Linked DNA regions of Homo sapiens: all the other regions are linked to region 2. The links are contacts of gene promoters, found by promoter capture Hi-C in human tissues and cell types (Jung and others, 2019). All regions are on one chromosome and are shown on one strand. The core of a region is centred on a gene start or on the middle of the fragment in contact, and the rest is flanking DNA. Distances in the headings are between cores, read along the strand shown.

What was found. Contacts are between HindIII fragments. The study calls those that stand out against the background at their distance.
Region 1: a fragment that was not itself captured here is called in contact with the fragment with the promoter of GUCY1A2 in region 2 in 1 of the 25 tissues and cell types used here (hippocampus).
Region 3: a contact is called between a fragment that was not itself captured here and the fragment with the promoter of GUCY1A2 in region 2, in 2 of the 25 tissues and cell types used here (H1 embryonic stem cells and dorsolateral prefrontal cortex).

Annotation. Positions count from the first base shown.
Region 1 is chr11:106,382,786-106,386,033 of GRCh38, forward strand. All of the region lies in intron 2 of LOC105369474 (a long non-coding RNA gene), which reads left to right. Among named protein-coding and RNA genes, the nearest start is that of LINC02719, 250 kb to the left of the region's middle. The HindIII fragment of the contact is 6,435 bases long and covers 1-3,248 here.
Region 2 is chr11:107,016,541-107,020,112 of GRCh38, forward strand. GUCY1A2 (guanylate cyclase 1 soluble subunit alpha 2) reads right to left here and starts at 1,936. Exons shown (of 8, transcript NM_000855.3): 1 at 1,213-1,936. The coding sequence starts at 1,515. RefSeq lists a silencer at 1,330-1,459. The HindIII fragment of the contact is 5,267 bases long and covers 1-3,572 here.
Region 3 is chr11:106,466,485-106,469,577 of GRCh38, forward strand. No RefSeq gene overlaps it. Among named protein-coding and RNA genes, the nearest start is that of LINC02719, 340 kb to the left of the region's middle. The HindIII fragment of the contact is 3,583 bases long and covers 1-3,093 here.

The DNA of each region.
Region 1 (3,248 bases), core at 232-2,731, 630 kb before region 2:
GCATCATTTTTTATATAGTTCTAAATTTAGCTTGCTAATATTTTGTTAGAACTCTTGCATTTATGTACATGAGTGAGTGGTCTATACTTTTCTGTTTCCATTTTGCCTGTAGCTAATTTTGGTATTAAGTTACACCCGTATCATAAAATGTGCAGTAGAATATTTCCCTTTTCTTATCTCAGAAAAGATTTGTGTAAGTGGGATTTTTTTTTCTTTAAAATTTGGTACAACTCAGTGGTAAATCCTTTTGGGTAGTTTTTAAATGACTTATTTTCTTTAATGTTATAACAATTTGTGTTTTTCTATTTAATATTGAGTCAGTTTTGGAAATTTGTATTTTTCTAAGAATATGTCCATTTTACGTGTTCTCAAATTAATGGCATAGAGACATAGTATTAACTTATTTTTTAAAATCTCTATTATACTCTTAAAATTTTTAGTATTGTTTATATATGCCATTTCTGTCTCTTTTCCCCTTTCTCTTTCATAATCTGTTTTGCCTAAGGTTTGTCAGTTTTATTAATGTTTTCAACACATAAGCTTTGCTTTTCTTGATCCTCTTTATTTTGCCATAGTTCCTCTTTTCCCATTAATTATTGCCCTTCTCATCTTTATTTTATTTTTTTCTATTTTTTGGTTGACATTTTTCTAACTTCTCAAGTTGTATGCTTATTTACTGACATTCACGTTTCCTCCTATTCTAATAAAAACATATAAAGGTTACAGATTTCCTTTAATGTTGATTTAGCTACAGTTCAAAAGTTTTGATATAAAGCTTTTTATTATCTTTCAGTTCTAAGTATTTTATAATTTCTTTTGTGATTTTTCTCTTGGCCTTTGAGTCATTCGGTTGTGTTTGGAATTTCCAAATTATGAAGTTTGAAAATATTTTTTCTTGTTATTAATGTATACCTCAGTTAGACTAAAAGTAGATTTTGGGGTGCATGACACTAGATTTTTGAAATCTTTGCAGATTGGTTTTGGCCCAAAGTTTCACTTTCTCATTTCTTGATTTTTTTTTAATGTTTCTGTTTCTTTTGGAAATGTTTATCTTGAGAAATAAGAGCATCACTTAAAACTCCTGAGAAACATTTAAGTGCCTGAGCTGTGCAAATAATCTCCCCCAGTATTAAATATTGTGTCTCCCTTCTTTCTTCTTCATGACTCCGCAGTAGCTAGCTAGCTGTGACACACTGAGATTTAAGCAATGCTCTTTTATCATCTTGTCACGACAATATGCTGAAGCACAGCCCCTCTAATACATCTTATCACCTGATTGATTTCCACTCACGTACTTTAGGGCAGCTATTCCTGTCTATGCTGCTCAATCTTTGGTCACCCCTATAAAATTTAAATCCTTCTGATATTGTTTCTTTCTCTCCCATCCTAATCTGATTCCCCTACCAATTCTTACCACGATGCCCTTTTGAATCTCAGGATTCTCTTTAAACCTAAATGGTAAACCTTTTCAGGATCCTCTTGCTAATCTTCTCATTCATTTGAAACTGAAAAAAGAGAAGCTGGGGTCTGGCAACTAGAAGACTGCTGCTTTTCTCTTTATAGGCTTCTCCCTCTCAACTCATTCTGTTGAATGCTCCCTTGTTGAAAGAGCTGTTTAAATTGACAGTCTTCACTTCTTTACCTCCCATTCCCTTTTTAACCCATTGTAGCAGAGCTTCACTTCTTATTGTTTCTGCAGAGACACAGGGAGTATTCCTGCCTGTGACCCAAAAAACACCATCCATCCACAAATGACCAAATTGTGCAACACAGAAATGTGGTCCTCTTGTATTTGTGCCCAGTTCCTGGTTTAGTCTTCAATCTTCGGCTCCATCTCTGAAGACTGAGATAAAATCTGTCTTTTGCCAACTCACGTAGGATTTATGTGCAGTTTATTCAAACATGCTTGGTTTCCAGAGATTTCTGTGAATCAAATCTATTCTCCACAAGGCATACAGCATAATCTTTCTTAAATGTAAATCTAATTATGTCTTCCCATTACTTAAAACTTTGCAAAGGCTCCCTAAGGCTCCTAAAGTAAATTTAAAAATTCGTTAAGAATGGTTTACAAGCCCCTGAACCATCTAGTCAAGGCTTTTGTACTTAGATTCATGCTGTTTCTCCATTTCTGCTATACTACCTACAGTTCAGTTCAGGGCTTTTCTTATTATTATTTGTGCTTCTCAAAAATAACTATAGAATATGCTGGGAATGTAACCTCCTGAGACAGGGAGGGCTGGCTAGAACTGTTCAGTCCAACCTTAGAAAGAAGATATCTCTCAATGCACTATCCCAGCTATTCACATGATCAGAGGCTATTAAACCCAAAGCAGACCCCTTTCTGGTGTGATACAAGTGATATCAGCTGTGATACAAGTGGGGCATATGTCATCAAGACTTCATTTGCTCTGGGCAGCTTTTCTGAGCCTTGGGGGTCTAGCATGCAATGGATTCTAGGCTTCTATTTTCCCTTGTCTATCTGTAAGTAATAAATTTGCTTTATGTAATTTGTGTTAGGTGTTCTATCTCATCAGAATCAGACAAGTTGGTAACCAGTGACCCTGCTTTGCAATATCTATATCCATTTTAGATTATTTGAGATAGAATTTCCAGGCTTTTACATCATTGGTTTCCATATTTGATATTCTAGAATATATCCTTGTGCTTCTTTATTTTATTTATTTATTTATTTATTTTTTGAGACGGAGTCTTGCTCTGTTGCCCAGGCTGGAATGCAGTGGCGCGATTTTGGCTCACTGCAAGCTCCGCCTCCCGGGTTCACACCATTCTCCTGCCTCAGCCTCCTGAGTAGATGGGACTACAGGTGCCTGCCACCATGCCCGGCTAATTTTTTTTTTTTGTATTTTTAGTGGAGACGGGTTTTCACCATGTTAGCCAGGATGGTCTCAATCTCCTGACCTCGTGATCCGCCCGCCTCGGCCTCCCAAAGTTCTGGGATTACAGGCGTGAGCCACCGCACCATGAGTTCTTTAAGCTGCTGTCTGAAGATTATTTCCTTTCATATTGGAATTGGAGTGTTTTAAACCTTTATTGCTTGGAGCCACGTGGAACTTCTTGTGTCACAGTAAGAGAAAAGCCCACATTTGGCCTTTCATTTTATCACAAAAAATCCAAAAAGAAGAGCATAAAAACTGGCTTACCCCATTGTTAGCTCCCTTCCTTTCCTTCTCATTCAAATAAGGGGGCCTGGGCCTTCCTCCCTCTGTCCATGCCTGTCACTTTGGTTC
Region 2 (3,572 bases), core at 686-3,185:
TGAAACTGCTGATACAGACATCCCAAGATGACCACAAGTTTGGAGAGGCATTTATTCATTCCACAAATATTTAGGAAGGGCCTAATATAAAGAAGCCACCAAAAAATGAGAGAGAAAGCACTAGAGAATCAATTGAAGAGAGAGTAAAGGATGAGGTGCAGGTGCAAGAAGTACAGAGCGGTTTAAATAGCTAATGTGAGAGAGAAAGCACTAGAGAATCCATTGAGGAGAGAGTAAAGGATGAGGTACAGGTGCAAGAAGTACAGAGAGGTTTAAATAGCTAATGTGAGAGAGAAAGCACTAGAGAATCCATTGAGGAGAGAGTAAAGGATGAGGTACAGGTGCAAGAAGTACAGAGCGGTTTAAATAGCTAATGCATGCGAAGCTTAATACCTAGGTGATGAGTTAGTAGGTGCAGCAAACCACCATGGCACACGTTTGGTACCTATGTAACAAATCTGCACATCCTGCACATGTAACCCGGGACTTTAAATTAAATTTAATTTAAAAAAAAAGAAATCCAGACACCAGGTTTACCCAGAGAAGAATAAATGCCTAGTGGATAAGAAAGAAAAAGAAAAAAAGCTACGGGGTGAGGACAACTCGAGATTAGAGATTACTTGAACAGAAGGCAACTCAGAAAAGTATCTGGCAAAAAGTATCTGAAGATGTGAGAAAAAGGATGCAACATAGAATGCAGATAGCCTGTGGAATTCAAAGATGTCAGAGAAGGTCACGCTAAGACCAAGAGAGTGTGGGAAATAAGGAGAGGAAGGGTTTCCTGGAAGGGGTTGGGGCTCCTTTGGGATGCTGGAGAACAGGATGAAAGACAGGGAAGCTGAACTGCAGAACACAGTGCCTGGGAAAGTTTAGGGGAAAGAAAACAGGTGGGTGTGAAGCAGCACTGGGGCTGTCCAGGGGGAACAGTGGTGAAGTAGGGTTCAAGGCTAGAGGTGGGCAGACAGGCCCCCGAATCAGGATACCCCAAAGGAGTGGAATCTTATTCCTTCCCAGTGCTGTAGTCCCCTCTTCCGCCCTAGCCTAGGGGATCCTCTGTCGCCGGAGCCACTGGAACCCTAGGCCGTGCAGGGTAAGGCCGGGCCGCCCCCCAGCGGTCGGGCTCTGCGCTCGCGCCCCGGCTCGCCCAGCGCCAACTTTACAGATCCGCGTTCTCTCCCCCGAAGGCGGTCCCCCCTTCCGCCCCCCGCTCACCGAGGGCGCCGTCAGGCGGCTGATGCTCTCGCCCAGCGAGTCCAGGTTGACCCGCCTCCGGCGCTGCACCCTCCTGGCCCCGGCAGTGGCAGCGGCGGCGGCGGCAGAAGCAGCCGGGGTCGGGGCCGGGGCGGCGGCAGCGGCAGCTGCGGCCGGGCTGGGCTCCAGCGGCCCGGGCGGGCTCCGGCTGCCATTCCAGCAGAGCCTAGACAGGGGGCACTCCCCCTCCTCCTCCGGGCTGGTCTCCAGGTAGTCGGAGCCCAGGGAGCTGAAGGACTCGGACGAAATCTTCCTTCGAGACATGCTGCCGGCGGAGCTGCAGCGGCCGAGGCGGTGGCGGCGAGGACGCGAGCGGCGGCGGAGGCGGCGGTGGCGGGACCGGCAAGCGACAACGTTAAGCGCGTCGGGGCCGCGGGGCGCTGCGGTCGCGCCCGGCGGGGCGGGAGTCCCCGGGGCCGCGGAGCCCCCCGAGCCGGCTGCTCATGGCGGGAACTTGGGGCGCCGCCGCACCTTGGGGCCCGGGCTCGGCGGCGGCGCCGGGCTGGGCTGGGGGCCGCCGCCGCCTCTGCTGCTGCTCGCGCGGCGCCGCCTCAGCGCCCGCCTCGGCGCATCGCCGTGCGCCGCGCTCCCGCTCACGGGGAGGCTCCGAGAGTGTGTGACCGCGGTCGGCGGGGCGGGGAGGGCTGCGGCCCAAGCAGAAGGGGAGGCAGAGGCAGAGGCTTCTGCCGCCTGCGCGCCTATCTCGCCCCCTTTCCCTCTCTGCTCCCGCCTCTCTCCACTTGCTGCCCTGCCTCCCTCCTTCTCCCTTTATCCCCCCGCCCCCCCCCATGCTCTCCCTCCGCGGGAATCACGTGTCGCCATCATACTCATTGGGAGTCTCTGCCTCGCCTGTCGCCACGTTTCAGGAGCAACGAGGACACTTCGTTGCTGTCCTCTGCGCGCCCTCCCTGCTCCGAGGAGGTGCGCACAGGAGCTCGGGTCGGACTGAGGGCCCCAACCCCAAACGCCTTATCCTCGGCCCTCGGGAGCAGATGGGTCCCGGCGGCGCTGGTGGGGAGAAGGGCTCGGGGCTGGGGGGCGAGAGGCCTCCCCCTGGAGCCACCTTGGGGAAACCTGACAGTGTGAAGTGGGGGTTAGGGTCCATGTTGTCCTTTCTCCGAGTTTATTTAGGAAGTTCCGAGGCAAAAGGGAAAGGCCAAGCGTCCAGCCAGCCCACTCCAGAGGAGACGCTTTCAGGGGAAGGGAAGGACAGGGGCAACATTTTGGCGCCCATCCTGCTGGAGCAGCTCCTGGGGACTTGTGTTCCCCGCCTCGTGCGAGGCCGTGTGGGCGCGGAGCGAGCCCAGAAAGGGGCGGCAGTGAGGACAGCGTCTGCTCTGACAAGACAGCACTGTTGCTGAGCCTCAGCCGGGCGGGGTGCGCGGGGCTCCCGGCTCCGCTGGCTCCTCACTAGTGCTGGACAGCTCCGCTTGCCACCTATAGCCGCCTTTGCAGGCGTTGAGAACTGGAGAACAGTTCCTCCTCAAACGACCTAGCACCTGGCCCGGGGGAAACCGGGGAATGATCCCACGTCCCTCATCCTCAGGGCTCTTTGCGCCAAATATGCGATCTGTTTGCACCTGACTGCAAATGCTGCTCAGAAAGCTAAGGGGAGTAGGGATAAATGCTTCTCGAACTGACTCGCCACAGCGCGAGCATGTCTTGCCGCGAGTTTTCAGCTGTGCGGCTTCATTCCAAAGCTTATCTCTTTGCAAACCAGTCCTTCCAGCGCCTGACCCCACTGCCCCTTGCCTTAGCCCCAGAAAACTCTCATACTGGTTCTGAGGATAGAGTAAGAGATGGGAAGAAGGGGCAAATGACAGTATCCCGAAAGGGGTTCCAGGCTGTACTTCCCCCTGCAATGAAGTGGATGAGCACCCTCCCCAGCTCACCCGATCTGCGGAGAGAAAAGTTTAGGGGCTCTGGCTTTAGTTTCCCAGTGAAACCGAAGCCAAAGCGTTTTTTTAATTAAAGAACTGGTCCTTCCAGGTGAAGGCAGATGGGTTTTTGTGGACTGTGTTTATTTAAAAAGCAAAACAAAACCAAACCACAAAACCTGTGCTGTACCCCCACCACAATTTGCTTTTAACTTCAAATCTTCCCAAGTGTTTGTTAGGGCTTAAATATAAATGCTATTTGAGGTTTCATTTGGAAAAATCCACTCAAACTGGTTCAGAGACATACCTTTTTCCCCAGATCTTAAATGGGCTTTAAAGATAGAAAAGTGTGTACTATCACTCAGACACTCCCCCTTCAAATTATATATATATATATATATATATATATATGTGTGTGTATATATATGTATATGTATATACATA
Region 3 (3,093 bases), core at 268-2,767, 550 kb before region 2:
TAAGTATTCCCATTTTATGTGTATGGAAACAGTCACAGATGATTAATTTAGCCACAGAGAGTAATTTACTCAAGGTCACCCAGCTAGTTGCAGGGTCTGGGCTCTGACAGGTGAATGGGCTAAATAAGACTCAAAGGCACTTAGTAGTTATTCCGAGTCATGAAATGAGCAAGGAAGTAGCAGAGCTAAGACTTCCAGTCAGCTGCTTTGTCTTCAGATGTTCCCTTTTGAGTTCCTCACAGGCTGCCATGAGTTAGACAAATGGCACTAACACACCGAGTGTGTCTCTATTACTCTTGAAAAGAAACAGCCTTTCATAAGCAAGAAAGTTAAAACAGCAGTGATGGTCAGCTAAAGATGGCCTCCTTCAATTCTATTTTTGTTCACAACTTTTCTTCCTCACTTCTGAAACCCCTCAGAAAAAAACTCTTCTGCTCATGCTTAGTGTTTATTTTACGTGATTGATCTCACCACTGGAATTACGCTGTGCTATAAGGCTGCAGTAATCCTTAACCAGTGACTCACAAACCCAGCTGGTGCTTAATTTGTATTGCAATCAGCAGTGTGGGAGCACGTTTTTCTATTTTCTGAGTAAACATACGAACCCAGGATCAATATAGATTGGAGACTGTTTGCAATTAACAAAAGATGAGTTCAATGATATTATGCGGGGTGGGGGGAGGCAGGGAAGAAGAAAAGCAAGGACCCTCATTTAAAAATTCATCCAGGTGCTCTCATGTTGAAATGTCTGAATAAATTAACACAGAATTAGAAAATTGTGTATAATTAAGGTTTTTTAATGCACCTCTGTTAAGTATTAAAACACAAACATACAGAAAAAGAAGCTTTTGAGAACACATATTTGTTTTGATTAAGGATAAGACATTTGATAAAAGTTAATATATTTGCCAACACATTACAAATGAGCATGAAGATGATAGATTTTTTTGGTGTGTATCTTCCCTCCTATTTGTGTGATAAACAACTGCCATGTATTCCATATTTTCTATGGATATTGTTAAGACTTGGACTGACCTCTCAATCATATTTTACTCACTTATTTAATCTGTAAACCAAAAATAAAATTCTACACCCACCTCAACCACCTGAATGGACTTCCTCCTCAGCCAGGGCACTCTTAAAACTTAACATGAAGGACTGGTTCAGGCCATGATGGGAAGTGGGGATCAGGTATGCCTCATTATACCTCTCCATCATTAACATCAACACATACTTTAGGTCTGATAAGAAACTTTTTACAGCCTATTTTCTCTGAAGCCTACTACCTGAAGGCTTCCTCTGCAAATAAGAACTTTGGTCTCCACAATCCTTTATCTTAACCCAGGCATTCCTTTCTATTAATTCCAGGTCTTTAGATAAACTCAACCAATTGTCAACTAGAAAAATTGTAAATCTGTCTATAAGCTGGAAGCCCCCACTTCAAGTTGTCCCACCTTTCTGGACCAAACCAACGTATTTCTTAAATGTATTTAATTGAAGTTTTATATCTCTCTAAACTGCATAAAACCAAGCTGTACCCCAACCACCTTGGGCACATGTTCTCAGGACCTTCTGAGGGCTGTGCCATGGGGCATGGTCACTCATTGTTGGCTCAAAATAAATCTCTTCCAGTATTTTACAGAGTTTGACTCTTTTCATTAACACTTCTATTCACTCATTCAAAAATATTTATTTCTGGCCTGCTTATGCTCAAAACTGGAGATAAGGCAGTCAGTATAACAAAATATGGTCCTGTTTGTTGAAGATCTTAGGGTCTGGAGAGGCAGTGAGTCACCAAACAATCATGTGAATGCAATGTTGATAAATGCTGTGAAGGAGGCATAAATGGTGTTCCAGCTACAAAAATAGCTGGCTCTGACTCCCGAACTAGAATTATTTCTCTGATGTGTTTGCAGAGGTGATATGAAATGCTGTTAACTATGGGTGAAAGTTAAAGAATAGTCAATGCGTTCATCTAGAAATATTTTTCTCTTGCCGCATTTAGCTTTGGGTTAATTGTTTGGTAGAACTTATTTTGTGGCTGCCTGAAAATATGAAATCTTCTAGCTCAGCGGTCTTACACACTGCTCATTCACAACTATTTATACTATCATCAAGTGGTTAATGTGCACTAAACCAACTAAAGGACTAATTTAAAAGTTTCTTTTTCTGCTTTTTTTTTTTTTCCTGGGAACCCAGTGGCATCCTAGGGATTTGTCAGAACACTGTCAACAGAGGAAGACTCAGGAAAAGAATGAAAAGTCCAGCTGCTCCCAGCCCTTTCCAGCCTCCATTCATTATGCTTAAGTCTGTTCCTACATAGTGGGCTGTTTCATTGGGGCTGCATGGTGTTTGTCCCTGACTGGAGTGGAAGTTTCAGAAGAGTGAGCTCTTGGAGAACTGAGAGTTAAGTTAGCCTCTTTACAAACTAAATGGATGTTTTTTCATTGGAAACGAGTTCTTTTCTACACAACTTATATCTAGAAAGTCAGTTAGCCAGTAAATATATGAGATTCAAAAAAGGTCTGAAGGAAATACGAATGGTAGGGAGAAAGGAAGGCAGGCAGAGAAGTCAAGATTTTGAAAATCAGTAAAAACTATTATGAGCAAAAACATTTCTTTTTGACCAGCTAACCGTTCTGTCAAACTAAGTTCTAGCCAGATAATCATAGCTACTGCATAATAATGGAATTTTTTTTTATTGTGCTGTGACATGCCTGAAATAAATTTCATTAGAACTGGTTATTGATATGAGACTTAAGTAGCAGAGGAAGCTTGCTGTAATCAGCCAATGTTTTAGTATTTTTCTCAGTATTTTAGAGCATTAGTATTCTTTATCAATATAAATATTTAAAACCTATGAATTGAAAAAATAAGCAAAAAGAAATGGAAGTTAACGATGATATTTCTATTTGATAGTCTGTAATGTTAAGAGGAACTAAGTATAGAAGATAAGACTTCTAGAGTTTCCTAAATCTCTAAATGTTTCACACTGAATTTTATCTAAATAGTTACTACATGCCCTTTAAGAGAAACTGATAAATGATTCACACTAAGGGGAAAAAAATCAGGAAATATTCAGACTTTAGTTTC